Regions from separate parts of the Homo sapiens genome. Here region 2 is linked to region 1. Evidence: promoter capture Hi-C in human tissues and cell types (Jung and others, 2019). All regions are on one chromosome and are shown on one strand. The core of a region is centred on a gene start or on the middle of the fragment in contact, and the rest is flanking DNA. Distances in the headings are between cores, read along the strand shown.

The links. The method cuts DNA at HindIII sites, captures the fragments that hold promoters and counts their contacts. A contact is called where the count stands out against the background at its distance.
Region 2: a fragment that was not itself captured here is called in contact with the fragment with the promoter of SLIT2 in region 1 in 1 of the 25 tissues and cell types used here (lymphoblastoid cells).

Annotation. Positions count from the first base shown.
Region 1 is chr4:20,246,448-20,253,582 of GRCh38, reverse strand. SLIT2 (slit guidance ligand 2) reads right to left here and starts at 1,678. Exons shown (of 37, transcript NM_004787.4): 1 at 1-1,678. RefSeq lists an enhancer at 1-562. The HindIII fragment of the contact is 10,378 bases long and covers 1-5,724 here.
Region 2 is chr4:19,458,361-19,465,542 of GRCh38, reverse strand. All of the region lies in intron 1 of LOC105374511 (a long non-coding RNA gene), which reads right to left. Among named protein-coding and RNA genes, the nearest start is that of LINC02438, 5.0 kb to the right of the region's middle. The HindIII fragment of the contact is 7,394 bases long and covers 2,228-7,182 here.

The DNA of each region.
Region 1 (7,135 bases), core at 429-2,928:
GGTCCTGAGGATGAATCCGCCTGGCCAGGGCTGCAAGGAGACCCCAAGAGCAGCGGAGAGGAGATCACGCGTCTTCTGTCTCCCAAGGATGAACTTGGCGGTAAAAGAGCTGGGGCTTCCAACGGCTGCTAAGATGCAGGGGCCGGTTGTTGTGGGGAGGGCGGTCCTCTGATCCCACGCACGCTTCTGCAAATCCGATGCCAGTGGCGAAGGTACAAGACAGAAGAGGGGATCTCAATAGGTATTATGGCCCCGATCAAAGTGGGCTCCGGAAGCTAGAAGGCGCGGAAGCCCAGCGGGCCCGTAGCAGAGCGCGCGGGGCAACTGGGCATGGCGCGCGGGGGTGCACGGGGCGGACGCGCAGTTCTGGGGGCGCACGGCTCTGGACTCTGCTCACTCACGCGGCCTCTCCCTCGCCCTCGACTCCGCCGCAGCCTGGACCGGTCCTCGCGGTCTCCCGACAGCCAACGATGGTTTACAAACACACATGCACTTCGCTGAAGGATGTCTGGGCAATCCCGCCTCCCGCTCGGCGTCCTTGGCGACGCTCTGCACCAGGACCTGCCCCGAGGTCACGCAGAAAAGACAAAAGGGCAGTCGGGCCGCCGCAGCCGGGCAGAAATATCCACTAGTCAGCACTCCGGCGAGGAACTCCAAGAGGCCAAGTGGAGGATGAGAGCTGCTGCGAAGACTGAGTGGGGACTGACTGGGGGCGGACTTAAAAACCAGGCAGACCGGAAGGAGTGGAAAGGCAAAGGCCAAGGTTGGAGGTGTCAGCGTCCTGCTGGGGCGTACTGGAGAATGGCTCGGTGGCAGGTGGGCGGGTGGGATCCACTACTCCAGGCAGAGCCAGGCGGCAGCTGAATGGCAGTAGTGTGTGCGCGCGTGTCAACCCCGCTCGTCTCCCAGATAAGCCGCAGCTCCGCGGCAGACACCTGATGGCAAAGGTAGAAGAAACAAGAGCCGGGTTCCGGAGGGCGCAGAGCCACGGCCGGCCCCCGGCGGTCTCCCACTAGTGGTTCGTCCTTCTCAAAGTGCAGCAACTTTTCCCAGGCTTTGAATTCCGTCCCCCAAGGCCACAGTGGCGGTACCCCTGCCGGCGTGGCGACGCCGCCCGGCTCCTGGCGCTGCACCTGACGCGGCGGCCGCAGTCCCGGGTAGTCCTTCTCCTTCTAGCCCCTTCCCCTCTCCCGCTGCTTTCCTGGCCTCCCGCTCCAGGGAGCGAGGTCGGGGAGAGGGAGGGCGACGACTCAGAGCGGGGACTCGGTGGCTCTGCCGACTCCGGAGCCCCTGGCAAGTGTCTAAACAATAGGACGGACGCAGCAGCCCAAGTCTCGCTTGTCTGGAAGGAAGGTGGGTTGTTGTCGTAACTGGAGTTGTTCGCTGGGGCTGACTGGCGCTCAGCGTAGCCAAACAAAAACCCGGCCCGCGCCTCCGGAGCCGGCTGCGGGCCCCCGGCGCTCCCCTTTCTGCTCAGCACTCCCGCCGTGCCCAGAAAGCGCGGCAGCTTCGGCCTGCGCCTGGGCGCTTCGGCGCTCCCATGCCTCGCAGCTGCCTCCGCCTCCGCCGCCGCCGCCGCCGCCGCCTTCTTTTTTTTAACCACAGTCTGCGGCAGCCACCACCACCGCCGCCGCCAAGCTCCGCCGTCCGGGCGCTTCCCAAATAAATAACACCAAGTCCGAAGTTGAGCCGGCGCGGGCCTTATATAGCCGCCCGAGCCTCCGCCCCCTGACCCCGCCCCTCGAGGCCCAGGCCCGCCCCCTGGCTCCGCTCTGGGAGCCCGCACCTCGCTGGGGAGAGGGGAGAGGTGAGGCCGGGGCTGCCAGCGCTGGGCGGAGGCGGCGGCTGGCGGCGCGCGTTCCCGTGCGCCCTGGCTCGCCCCCTCGCTCCCACGCGCGGGCAAACTTGGCCCGAAGAAGGAGCCACCCGAGCCCCAGCCCCCAACTCCTTGGCCCCAGAGGTGACCTGGGCTCGGAGATAGTCGTTTGCAGTGGGAGAATGGGAAGAGGTCGGCTTTGAACGCGGCTCATAAATAAACAGCCCTGCCAGTGCCTCTCCTGCAGCTTTTGCCACGCGATCCTTAAGGGGGCTGCTCACTCTTTGCAGCGCAGCAAGAGACAGAGAGACAGAAACAGAGAAATTATGATTTAAATTTAAGAAAAATCCTACCGAAATAGATCTGCCTGCGCTTACAGACACACACGTGTATTTTGGGGAGCTGAAAAGTTCAGTTTTTGCAAGTTGGAAAACAGCATTTTCCAACCTTCTTGCTTGCCTTTCTATCTCCAAGCCACCCCCTTCCGTTTAACCCTTCCTTTGTAGACACACACTGAACCACACCGTGGTCAGTTGATGTCTTGGATATTCAATAGGCTCACAAAACTCTTAAGGGCTTGAACGTATCTGTGTGATTTTTTACTCTCTTATGAGAGAAAGGAGGGGAAAAAATAAATCCCTAGCAACGCACATTATACCAGAAGGTTTTCTTTATTTCAGGGCAGTTCTGGATATTTTTTTCCCCGCTATGTTTTGAAAGAGAATTTCCTTGTTTCATCTTGTCTCTTTAGTGTGACGTATGTCTGGCAACGGCTGCCTCTCTCGCCCCCCTTTCCCCCCCAGCAAGAGCCAATGTCACTGTAAGTTTGAAATGACATCTAAATGACTCTGCTCCTTCTCTTGGATTTAATATGCATCATATTGTTGTTCTTCCTCCCATTTCCACGTTAAGAAGCTTTCCCTGGAATTTGTGCAAGCCCCCGCCTAATACCAGCCTCATATTGTAGTAGTTATTTGTATAATTATTAGAAGCTTCCTTGAAAGCAAGACCTGTCCAACTCTTTGTATTTCCAGCATCTATGCCTGCCACATAATAGGTTTCCTCATAAGTAACCGATTTCTTTAACTCAAGAGTATGCTCAACCTAAAATCTCTGCAATATCCTCATTAACGTTTTTCCTGGTTAACATTTTCTAAGATGTCCTTTCATAATGGCTACCCCTACTTACCTCATTTTGCCTGCCTTGGAAAACGTAAGCCTTTTCGAGGACACGCCCAAAGGCAGGGTACCATCTGATAACTGAATTGGAACTCTTAGGATTACTCATTTTAATGCCACAGATTTATATTGCTCTATTCTTTTAAAACCTTCAAAAACATTTGACATTTATTAACTCATTTGTCCTTCTAGATTTTAGCTTAAAGGTCTGTTATGTAACTTCCTTGAGGAGGAGAAAAAAGAAGCCCTTGTCACATTTTCTTGTAAGGAAAATGAGATAAAGAACAAGTACCTGTCATTGAGGAAGGAGCTCCCCCAACCCTCAGTGAATTTTCCTTAGTGTGTACCAGTAAATTATGTGGTTAAATATGGTTGCTGATACATTAATTTATTTAATTTCACAACTTTAATATCTTGTCAGCAACAAGAGGTGTTTGTGTTCAACTTTGTGCACCACATAGAATTGTTGTTCCATATTTTAATTCCAAGAACATATCCTGCATTCCAAATATTTATAAATAATATTATTGATATTGTTGCATAAGTGAAATTCACAGACATAAGTTCAAGTTTCATTCTATCTCTGATCACTTTCTGTTTTGTGTAAAACCAAGGAGAAACTAACATACATAGCAACATGCCTACAGAAACATCTTTTTAAAATTTGAAGCCAATTTAAATAAGAAGCTATGTTCAGTGGATTTCATTCAGAAAAAAGAAAGACTGTAATTAATTCTTGAGAGGCATATCTTACTATTTTTTGCGTTATTAACTTTTTAGTTGATAAGGGGAATTTTATACATACATAAACAACCAGGTCTCCTGTCCTTTAACATATTACTGTATTATTCCATTAGTATTACTGCAGGATGTTTGTTGAAGGCCTTGCAGGCTTCAGAAACATTAACTTCTAGGTCTTAATTCTTTATGGATTATTTTGCTCCCATATGAATTTCTGAGTTTCTCTTTCACTGTTAAACCCAGCCTGAAGAAAGCCTTCTGTGGTGCCTCTTGTCACCACATGAGGTCTCCATAAATCCTGACCTGGATTAAGCAGAAGTGGAATCCACTATAGCCAATATCCGAGTCTCCTATTATCTTGCAAAAAAAAAAAAAAAATCCAGTTCGTACAATAATTTGGAAACAATGTAGACAATCACCTATGCAGCAAAGAAATAAAAAGCATCAGAATAATGTGTAGGTTATTAAATGTCTAATAAACTTTGCATTTTTTTGAAATAAAAAGGTTGTGAAGTTGGGTTATATGGGAAAAGGGAGGAAGAAAAGAGAATTTACGAAAAAGAGATAAAGAAGAGTAAAAATTATTGTTCTCTGTCTTTTTAAACAGAGGTAGGTAACAGTAATTGCATTGATCAAATTCATGAAACTTAATTCCTTGAATTTAACTGCCTTCATGTTACTATTTTCCATTGTTGCAATGTGTTCATTTTAATTATTTGATATTTCTTTCATTTAAATTATCTGATATTTCTCACAATATCTTTGTATTGGAAACGTAGACATGGAACCCTAATATAATGGAAATTAAGATTTAACCAAAATTTGTTTCAAGCCTACTAAATTCCAAGCTATTTGACAGAGTTACATCCACAGTGATGGTTGCTATTTCACTCCTTACAGTAGAGGATGTTGGTCTTCATGCAAGTCGCAGCTTATTAAATGGCAGAGCTAGAACCAGAACCTAAGTTCTCTGACCTCAATTCTCAATTGATTCTTCTTCACCCAACTGTTTATCTGTAGATCCACTGGAACTCGTGGGGATCAAGGAATCTATAGATCCTCAGGAATGATCACCCTCATACAGGAGATGGTCATGTCTCTGCACACACTCCTTAAGGGCATCTACAGGGAGCAGTAAAGAGCTAGAGTCCTCAGCACCAGCACTTCAAGGATACTGAAACCTGACCTGCTTCTGGACATAGCTTTGACTTTGAGATGATTCTCTAGGTGAGTGGTTCTCAGCATGTGGTCCCTGGACCAACAGCATCGTAATCGCCAGGACTGTAGTTGGAGATACAACTTCTCAGGCCCTAACTCAAACCCACAAAATCAGAAAATCTGGGAACAGAAGCCAGAAGGCTGTGTTCTCACAAGCCCTCCAAGAGATTTTGATGTTCACTAAAATTTGAGATCCATTACTCAAGAGCTGCTCTGTGTTTGTATCTGTGACACATTGGTACGGAGAATGAAGCAGCAAAGAATAATAGATAACAGCTGCTGAATTGTCTTCAGCTTCTCATTCCTGGGGGTTGACAATTGCACATTACTGATTACCTCTAGGGGGCACCAAAATATTTTGATGTACAGCTCCGCAGAGGCAATAAGACTTTAGTTTTATTTTCCAAGGAAATGGCCTTCAGAAGTGGAAAGGGCTTCCTAGTTATTACATCAGCAACCTGCCCGAATATGCCTCAACCCTTTAAAAAAATCTGTTATATTTATAGGGATTTTTTCCAGTTTAATACCACTTTTGTATGGATGCATTGATTCCTATTTCTCATGATTATTGTGAAAATTAAGATATTATTTTTCAATCTAACAGCACAGGGCCTGGCATAGAGCTAGGTGCTTATTAAATAAAGGGTATTTCATTATTACTTTTAATATCTGAAATTTTCTAAAATATTATATTTGTATTATGAGAATAGATAACATATTCCTTTAGTTATTACTATGATCCAATAACTTCTTGTATTGAGTCCTGGGAAGGGCTGGGCTGAGGGTGATACTTTACAAGAAGAACAAATCAACTTACAATAATCAAGCCCTGCTCAGACCTACAGTATCCCATGAACAAAAGAGTGGCGATAGATATAATTAGTTTTGTGCTATGTGTGTCACATAATATAAACTAATCTTTGAAGAGGTAAAGTTGGTTTCCCGCTGCCAGAATAACTGCTTGTTGATTATGCAGTGAAATTAAAGGGAGAAGTTCTAAACCTTGATCTGCTGATAAGTGGGAGTGCTTGGGTAGCTTTGGATATGCGGCTTAGCTCTCGCCTTAGTTTCCTCCTTTATACATTGTTGGGATTAGACCAGTTGAACCATAAATCCATCCTTCTGTTATTAGTAATAATATATTTATTAAGCAGTGTCTGTGTTCCAAACACTGGGCTGGTCACCTTATATATCTTAGCTTCTTTAATTTTCACAGCAATCCTCTGACTTGGATACTATTTTTATCCTTGATTTATAGTGAAGAAAATTGAGGTTTACAGGAATTCATTCAGTTCATGCAGCTAGCAAGCAGCAAAGTAGGCACTAGAATTCCAATTCAATCCCAAACTCTGTTTCACAAACATTGTAATACCCTACCTTTCAAATTCTATGATTTGAGTACACCAAGCAAAGACTTGTTCTATATAAAATGAAGACAAAGATGTATTGGGGGAGGAAAGAGTGCAGTGGTTTAAAGTGACATTTGAATATTAAATGTGTGAGATACTCCAGCAAGAACAAAAGAGAATATGCTGATAATAGAAAAATGATAGTGGGAAAAGTAAAGCAAAAGATAGTTAATACTCGATGCAGGTTAAAAATACATTAATATCAAAACACACAAACAAAAATACACGGTAAAAATTTTAATAGTTTTATGAGTTTCAAATTTTTAAATTGTCGATTTCCTTTAACCATTGAGGAGAAGGAAATACAGTTGTAAATGATTTTGAATGTCCTAATCTTTTGACTCTACGAAGTCTAATAATGTGCATCCTGGATTTTCACAGAAGAAAAGAAAAATCTTTCTGGGTTACTTGGAAGGAAAGGAAAGGAACCTCTCACACCTCCTGCAGGCTTCTTCTGCTAGATTGCAAAAGGTTGACCTTCGTCCTATAAGGTCATAGTATCAAGCTAAAATTACACAGAAAGGTACTCTAGTCTAATAGAAACTCAAAATAAATATTTTCAAATCCCAAAGCTAAATATTATATATTGTAGATAAAAATCAACTCTGATTAACAGAGGCAGTTCATAACCACTATTGGAAAAATATAGTTCAAAGTAAATGCCTCCCTGATGGCCAAAAAGCCATTTTCTCATACAAAGAGTCTCATTAGTATCTTAGTACAAGAAGTGGAAAACTTCTTCTGTCAAGAACCAGCTAGTAAGTAAGCACTT
Region 2 (7,182 bases), core at 4,675-7,174, 790 kb after region 1:
CTGAACTTAGAAGTTTTGGTTCAGTACTAGCTGTGAAAACAAATTAAGACCACCCAAATGTGTAAAAACAGAGGCTAAATAGTTTTCCATAATATTCATAAATATTCAGAGCTTTCTATAGCAAAGGAGTAAGCCGCAATCACTTGTGTTTGGCAGAGATTCAAAGGCAAGCATGGAAATGGGAAAATGTTATAGTGAAAACAAAGGGAAGGCTTCAGGTGTGCCCTAATTGGATGTTTTGACATGGGAAAACTGTATTTGTGTTATCTAGAATTGTGGTTGGTTTGGGGAGCATAGTCAGTTTTCTCTAGTTGGTGCTGAGGTGGAAACGGACATAATGGAAAAGCTGTAAGTTGTTGTCCAAGTCCTGACATTCTGGGCCAATTGCTTTAGAGGTTGCGGTTTCTGGGCTGGTTGCTGCAGAGATTTTGGGACAGAGGTTCTACTGTTATATATGGTCTGACCATTGTTCATGGGTATGTTCTCTCTTTCATAGCTCAGCTGCTTAGCATGTGTGTGGCCCTTATGAGCACTGAACTATGTTACAGAGCTAATGAGGAACTTGAAGCTCAGGGAGAACAAGGCACAAACTTAAAGTTACATGTTTAATAAAGAGTTAAGTGTAAGAAGCAAGAGTGTTGGGTTTTGATCTAGAGCAATAGTTCTCAAAGTGCAGTTTTGGCTCCAGCAGCATGAGGTAACTTGGGAAGTTGTTAGAAATGCAAATTTTGGGCTCTAACCGAGGCCTATTGAATCTAATACTCTGGGGGTGGGGTTCAGCAATCTGTGTCTAAATAAGCCTTCCAGGTGATTGTGCTGCTTACACTTATATGACGAGTATGAGAACTGCTGATCTAGAGCTAGGTTCATTACACTGTGAAACTTTCCAGCTAGGGAAAAAGAATTCCCTAACCCTGAATATGCTCCTCTAGATGTCAACGGTATGATGGTTAGAGTGATTTGCTTAACAAGGATTAGAAATAATCACTATGTTTTAAGTGTGAGATGCTCAAGTTCTTGCAAGGGATTTGAATAAATTGAGCTTTATTAGGACTGATGAAATAAGGATACTTATATCCCTAAAGAACAGTTTAAGTTTGAACATGAAATAAATCAAAGGAAATTCTAGGCTTGGAATCTACAGATGCCATTAATTAGTAGATGAGGTGCTTGGTATTTAGATTGAGTTAGAATCTTAATTTGGGGGAAGTGACATTTGATACAGAATCCTGGCCTTGCAGAAACAGAGAAACCTTGCATGTCCCAACCACTCATTAAAAAAAAAAAAAAAAAAAAAGGAAAACAACACAATAAGAGGGCATCAAGTCTTTCATTCTTAATCATAGAACCCCACTTCCCCATGTCACAGACTTCAGTTTCACAAAGACAGTGTATTAGATGCTTTACATAAAATTAGAGGTGATTTAATCAGAAAATGGAAGCTGTTAGTACAAGAGACAGAAAAAATTTTTTAAATTGAAACATACATATCAAAATATAAGACTAAAATATATTAAAATGTTCTAATAATATAGCATTAGAATAGAAAAAATATTCTAAGGTAGGTCCACTTAATAAGTATTGAGACTTTTGCTGAAATCAATCATATCTCATAACCAGGAAAATAGTAGTAAAGCAGTAGGACTGTGATATGGCTTTGTCTCATGTGCTTTACATATGATTGATATGTAAACACACACACATATACATGTACATATAAATGTATATATACATATATATGTATTTATATGTGATATATATATATTTATTATTATCTTTGGGTGTGTATTCTCCTGCTTTTCTCAATCAAATTATTTCCCCACAAGGTGTTAGCAATATTTCTGATAGTGGAAGCCTGTATGCCTTATTTTAAATGGTGAAAAACGTGTTTTCAACCCATCTAAAAGCACAAAAAATTATCCAGGATATTAAATACTTTACCGCCTTATTTAGCAATCCACAAAATATTTCTGCTTAATATTATATGTTTGAATCATCACTTATTTAATCTATACTTTAAAATCCCTTTAATGAATGTGTTTGCATAGTGTGTAATGATTACGTACAATATATAAAACAAATTGCAATTTTTTTTGTATTCACTTCTCAGAATGCACAGACTTTGTGAATTACAGGAGTTTTTCTAAGGATTTGACCTTTCTACATTCTTGGATTCACTTACACTAACAGTTTTATATTTTATATAACACTGTAGGGAAGATGATATTGTCACCTTTGTCAACAACTTGACCTCAATACACAACCCAAGACACTATTCTAATCAGGGAATAGCTGAGAAACTAGTGCAAAACCATCTATATCCTCCCATCCAACTCATGCCCAACTCATTCAGTTTTACTGGCCCACACAAGCATACTCCTTAGAGTAGGGTTTGGATTTTAGAATCAGATGTTTAATTTTGTGTAAAATATTTCTTCAAGTCTTTATATTCCAAACTTTAAATTCAAAGAACATGTATCCTTTCAGTTGGAGAGGGAGAGAAAAAAAGAACACATACATATATGTTGTAGACACACATGGATATTTGTGTATATATCCCATGTATGTATGTGTGCACATGTATGTCCATTTATATGTACATTTAAGGATATACGTATATATACACAGATGTTCATGGTTTCTATTTGTAGATTACATAATGAGATAAATAGTAAATAAATATGTGATTGTACATTATCTTTACAAGGTACCACCTTTAATATGCTAGACAAAGTAAGGAGTCAGTGAAAATAATTCCCTTAAAAAGATTACAGTTTAATTAGGAGAGAGAGCATATAAACAGACAAGATATCTGACATAAATATTTAATTATCAAATAAAGAGATAAATACATTATACCAACACACTGGAAATAATATAAATCTTAACAACTAATAAAGTACAGCAATAAATGTATTAACATTGTATTATGGTGTTATAGCAACACCAGGAAGGGATCCTTTGCACAATAATTGAAGATGTTAGTGAAAGTTGCATGATGAAGGCAATGCATGAACAAAAAGGAATGAGGCATATGGAGAAGATAAAGAAATCTCCAACAGAAAGAGAAGTATACAGAAAAGATAGAGACAAGAGAAAGATGAACCACAGAAAATGTAGGTAATTGGTAAATCAGGATTTCTAAAGCATAGACTACGAGGCAGGGAGTGTCAAATGATGCATTGCTTAGGTAGAAAAAGATCTGTTTATAGTGAATCTTATATCTATTTTGACACAATGAGTCATATCTATTTGATCATGCTCTGTTGGTGGCAATAAATCTTTGGAGAGAAGAGGACCAGTTGAAAAGACAGTGTAGTGATTCCTGTGAAGAGTTTCAAGATTCAGAACTAAGGAAATGGAAGTAGGGGCATTGTGTAAGGAGAAAAGTTCAAAAAACATTTAGGAGGAAAGTCACTAGGACTTGACACGTATGTATATGTGTACATGAGGGGAAGGGTTAATGGCTGACAAAAGGCCCCCAGATTTCTAGGAGAATATCGATAATGTAAGAGAAGAAACTAGTTTGAGAGGGGAAGGATGAGTTGATTTCAAAACTATATCTAGTTTCAAATAAGAAATAGATGAGCCCTTCAAGGCAATGTCTTGTGTCCAAAAGTCCAGTTTGGAAATTTAATTATTTAGTAATGAGGGACAAAAATCCTGAGGGGAAACCCTAGTTGTTTCACTCTCTTGGCAGGCTAACTATGGGCAAGTGGTTTAGTTTCTCTCAGCCTTACTAAGATTTTCCCCCATAAAATGAAGTACAATTTGTTGTCCTCTTGTAAAGATAAAATGAGATCATTTCTATAAAAGTGTTATTTAAACTCTATGTTTTCCAAGAGTAAAGCCATGTTATCACCAGATTAAACAAGGCTCTGGCAGCTACATCCCACATTAATATTTGTTGGTCTCGCTAATTTATCAGTGGATGTATATGTAACCTTTAGGATAGGCTAAACTAAGGCAAAAAATGGCTTCAACATCAGATATGTTCCCTTAAACAGAAAAGGCAGATAACCACAAAGTAAAATATCTTTTAAGACCATGGAACTTAATTAGTAAGTCTACTTTGGGAATAGTAGAATATCCTGGTAGACCAATGTGTCTTCTACTGCATGAAAACCTAGGCCTACTATAAAAAAATACTGGAAGAAAACTGGGACTAATATATAAAAATTAAGATTCTGAAACAAAGGAAAGGCAGGAGTACTTATAGCAGATATTCAGAGACAGCAGATGAGTATGGCAGATACTCATAAAAATATTTCCATATGGCAGATACTGACACTATGACTAAGATGTTCCTGGAAAACCTATTTGCTATTATTAAAAAAAGACTTTTGATTGTAAGCTATCCTTTCATTGTTCTCTGACAATGCCCAAAAAGAAAACATCTTAACATTCATGAAAGTAAAGCCCATAAAGCACAAGAAGTTTCAGCATGTCCTTTGGGGAATGAGCAAGAAGCTCATTTCTCTTCTCTTCTCTTTCTCTATCAAGTCACTGATGGAAGAGAAACCTCCATTCCAGGCCATGAATTATGGTAGGAAGAGTGAGAGGACCAGTGGCAACTGTGAATAGAGTAGGGAGCAAGAGCCACATTCTGAAGCTATTCAACAGCAAAAGAGAAAATCGCTAGGCAGTCTAGGTGAAGAGTAACAGTGAAGAGTAGCTGCCAGAGCCTTGTTTAATCTGATGATAACATAGCTTTACTCTTGGAAAAAATAGAGTTTCAAGTGAAGAGAATAAGGTGTAGGAAAAGGCAATAAAGAGGGTTGGGTGTTCCAGTGATATTGTGAGAGATAGGCTGAGGGTAAAATTACAATCCACATGCTCAATTGCACTCCTTTCATTCTCAATAAAGTAGTTCTATTACATATATATTTACAATTGTTCCCAAATTGACACATTCCAAATGAGTAGAAATACCTTCCATTTGTTTTGAAAGCACATGACACAAAAATGACCACATGAGAATTCAGATCTTCTAGTTCTAATGAATGAAGAAAATTCAGAAATATCTCCTGATGAGGCAATTGAACTCTGTTATTACAAACATGAGTGGCTTATGCCTGTAATCCTAGCATTTTGAGGGTCCAAAGTGGGAGGATTGCTTGAGCCCAGGAGTTCAAAATCAACCTGGGCAACACAGTGAGACCTCATCTCTACAAAAAATTTTAAAACATAAGCCAGGCATGGTGGTGCATACATATGTACATTTAAGGACATATAGTATATATACACAGGTTTTCATGGTTTCTATTTGTAGATTACATAATGAGGTAGATAAATAGTAAAAAAAATATGATTGTACATTATCTCTACAAGGAACCACCTTTAATGTGCTAGACAAATGCGCTAGTCCCAGCTACGTGGGAGGTGGAGGCAGGAAGATCCTTTGAGTCTGAGAGTTTGAGGCTCAACTGCAGTGAAATGTGATTGCACCACTGTACTTGAGCCTAGGCAACAGAGCCAGACCTCATCTCAGAAATAAATAAATAAATAAATAAATAAATAAATAGTGAGTGTATTATTCATTTGGTTTCCAACTCTCTTAGGAATTAACATGCTATGGAAGAACAAACATTTGTTCTCTATATAATATCTGCAATATGGGCACAAGTAATGATGTAGGGGTAAAAATATGATTATTTTTTCTCACTACATATTTATCCTACCCGTCCTCTTTACCAGACTTCAAGCCAAATGTCAAATGGGAATGCTACTTGCTAGCAATGGGATCTTTGCATTCAAATGTGTCTAGTTTATCTTGGTTTCCAGACTTGTCCAGTATAGGAAAAGAGATCTTTATTCCCAGATAAAGAGAAATGCCAGTGCAAAGAAAGAGAAAAAACAAGTGGAAAGGAAATGATAATAAATGATACAATGGAAGAACACTATTTTGAATTGAACTTGCAAATTAATATTCAAAAGTGTGAATCATGTTCTATGTAGAAGGAAAATAAAATGAATATGTAATAGTTTTGATAAATTCAAATGCTTTAATAAAATTACTTTTTAATAAAATAAACTTACGGTCCAATAAAGACATATAGTTCCTTCATATTATTAAAGAAAAAAAATCTTAAATTAAGGATCAGAATGATACTTAATGGTAAATCACTAGGATATTAATTAAATACAATAAAAGAATAGAAAGAATACTACAATCACCACTGTAACTGAAGTGAGTTGGCATTGCTATTGCAAAGGCAACAATAGCATCATTGATCAGAATGGAGGAGTTCAAATCATAATTTTCTGCAGTGGATAAAATTTTTGACTAAGAGTAATATCTGTAAAACAATGGCAGAATTCAGAAAATTTTCAATAATATATTTTATTGTTTTAAATTGATAATTTTCTAACATTATGTTGAAAATATCTGATATATAATGAAAATGGGCAAAAATTAAAAACCAAGAAATGTTTTTAATTTTGAGAAATATGAGAAATACAACACTTTAATCAATATAAATATTAGAAAAGTAAATGGAGAGATAATGTTCTTGCACAGGAAGACAATATACTAAAAGTGGCATTTTTTCAAAATAATGTATATATTTAACAAAATTAAAAAACATTTTGTTTTACATTGTTTTTAAATTAAGTTCATATGGACTTACGTATATGGAAAAAAAAATTTTAACTTAAAAAGAGAGAAAAAGGAGAGATCGGCCTGTTACAGAAACAGGGTATAAAGTGACAAAAATTTAAATTATGTTGTAGTAGCAGAGAAATAGGCACTTAATGGGGTATATAAGAAAACACTAATGTGTAAAAACTAAATTATATAATAAAGGTGGTAGTCAAATTAATAAAAGTTAAAAATGTTATTTTATAAATGATATATGGAAATGTGACTGTTTATTTAAAAAATATTAGGTGCCTAAATCATACCATATTTAAAAATTAATTCTGGATTCATTATATTTTTATTTTTTGAAATTTAATAATGTACCAAAACTATGAAAGATTATTTATACAACTTTGATCTTTAGAATCATATCAAATAACTTTGTTTTTAAATTCTGTATAAAATACATTAATATTAGAAAAATTATAAAGCAAGCATATTTATTTGAAACTAAAACATGTGGATATATAAAAAATACTTGCATATATATACATGTATATATGTATAATACATGTACGTATACATGTTATATATATGCATGT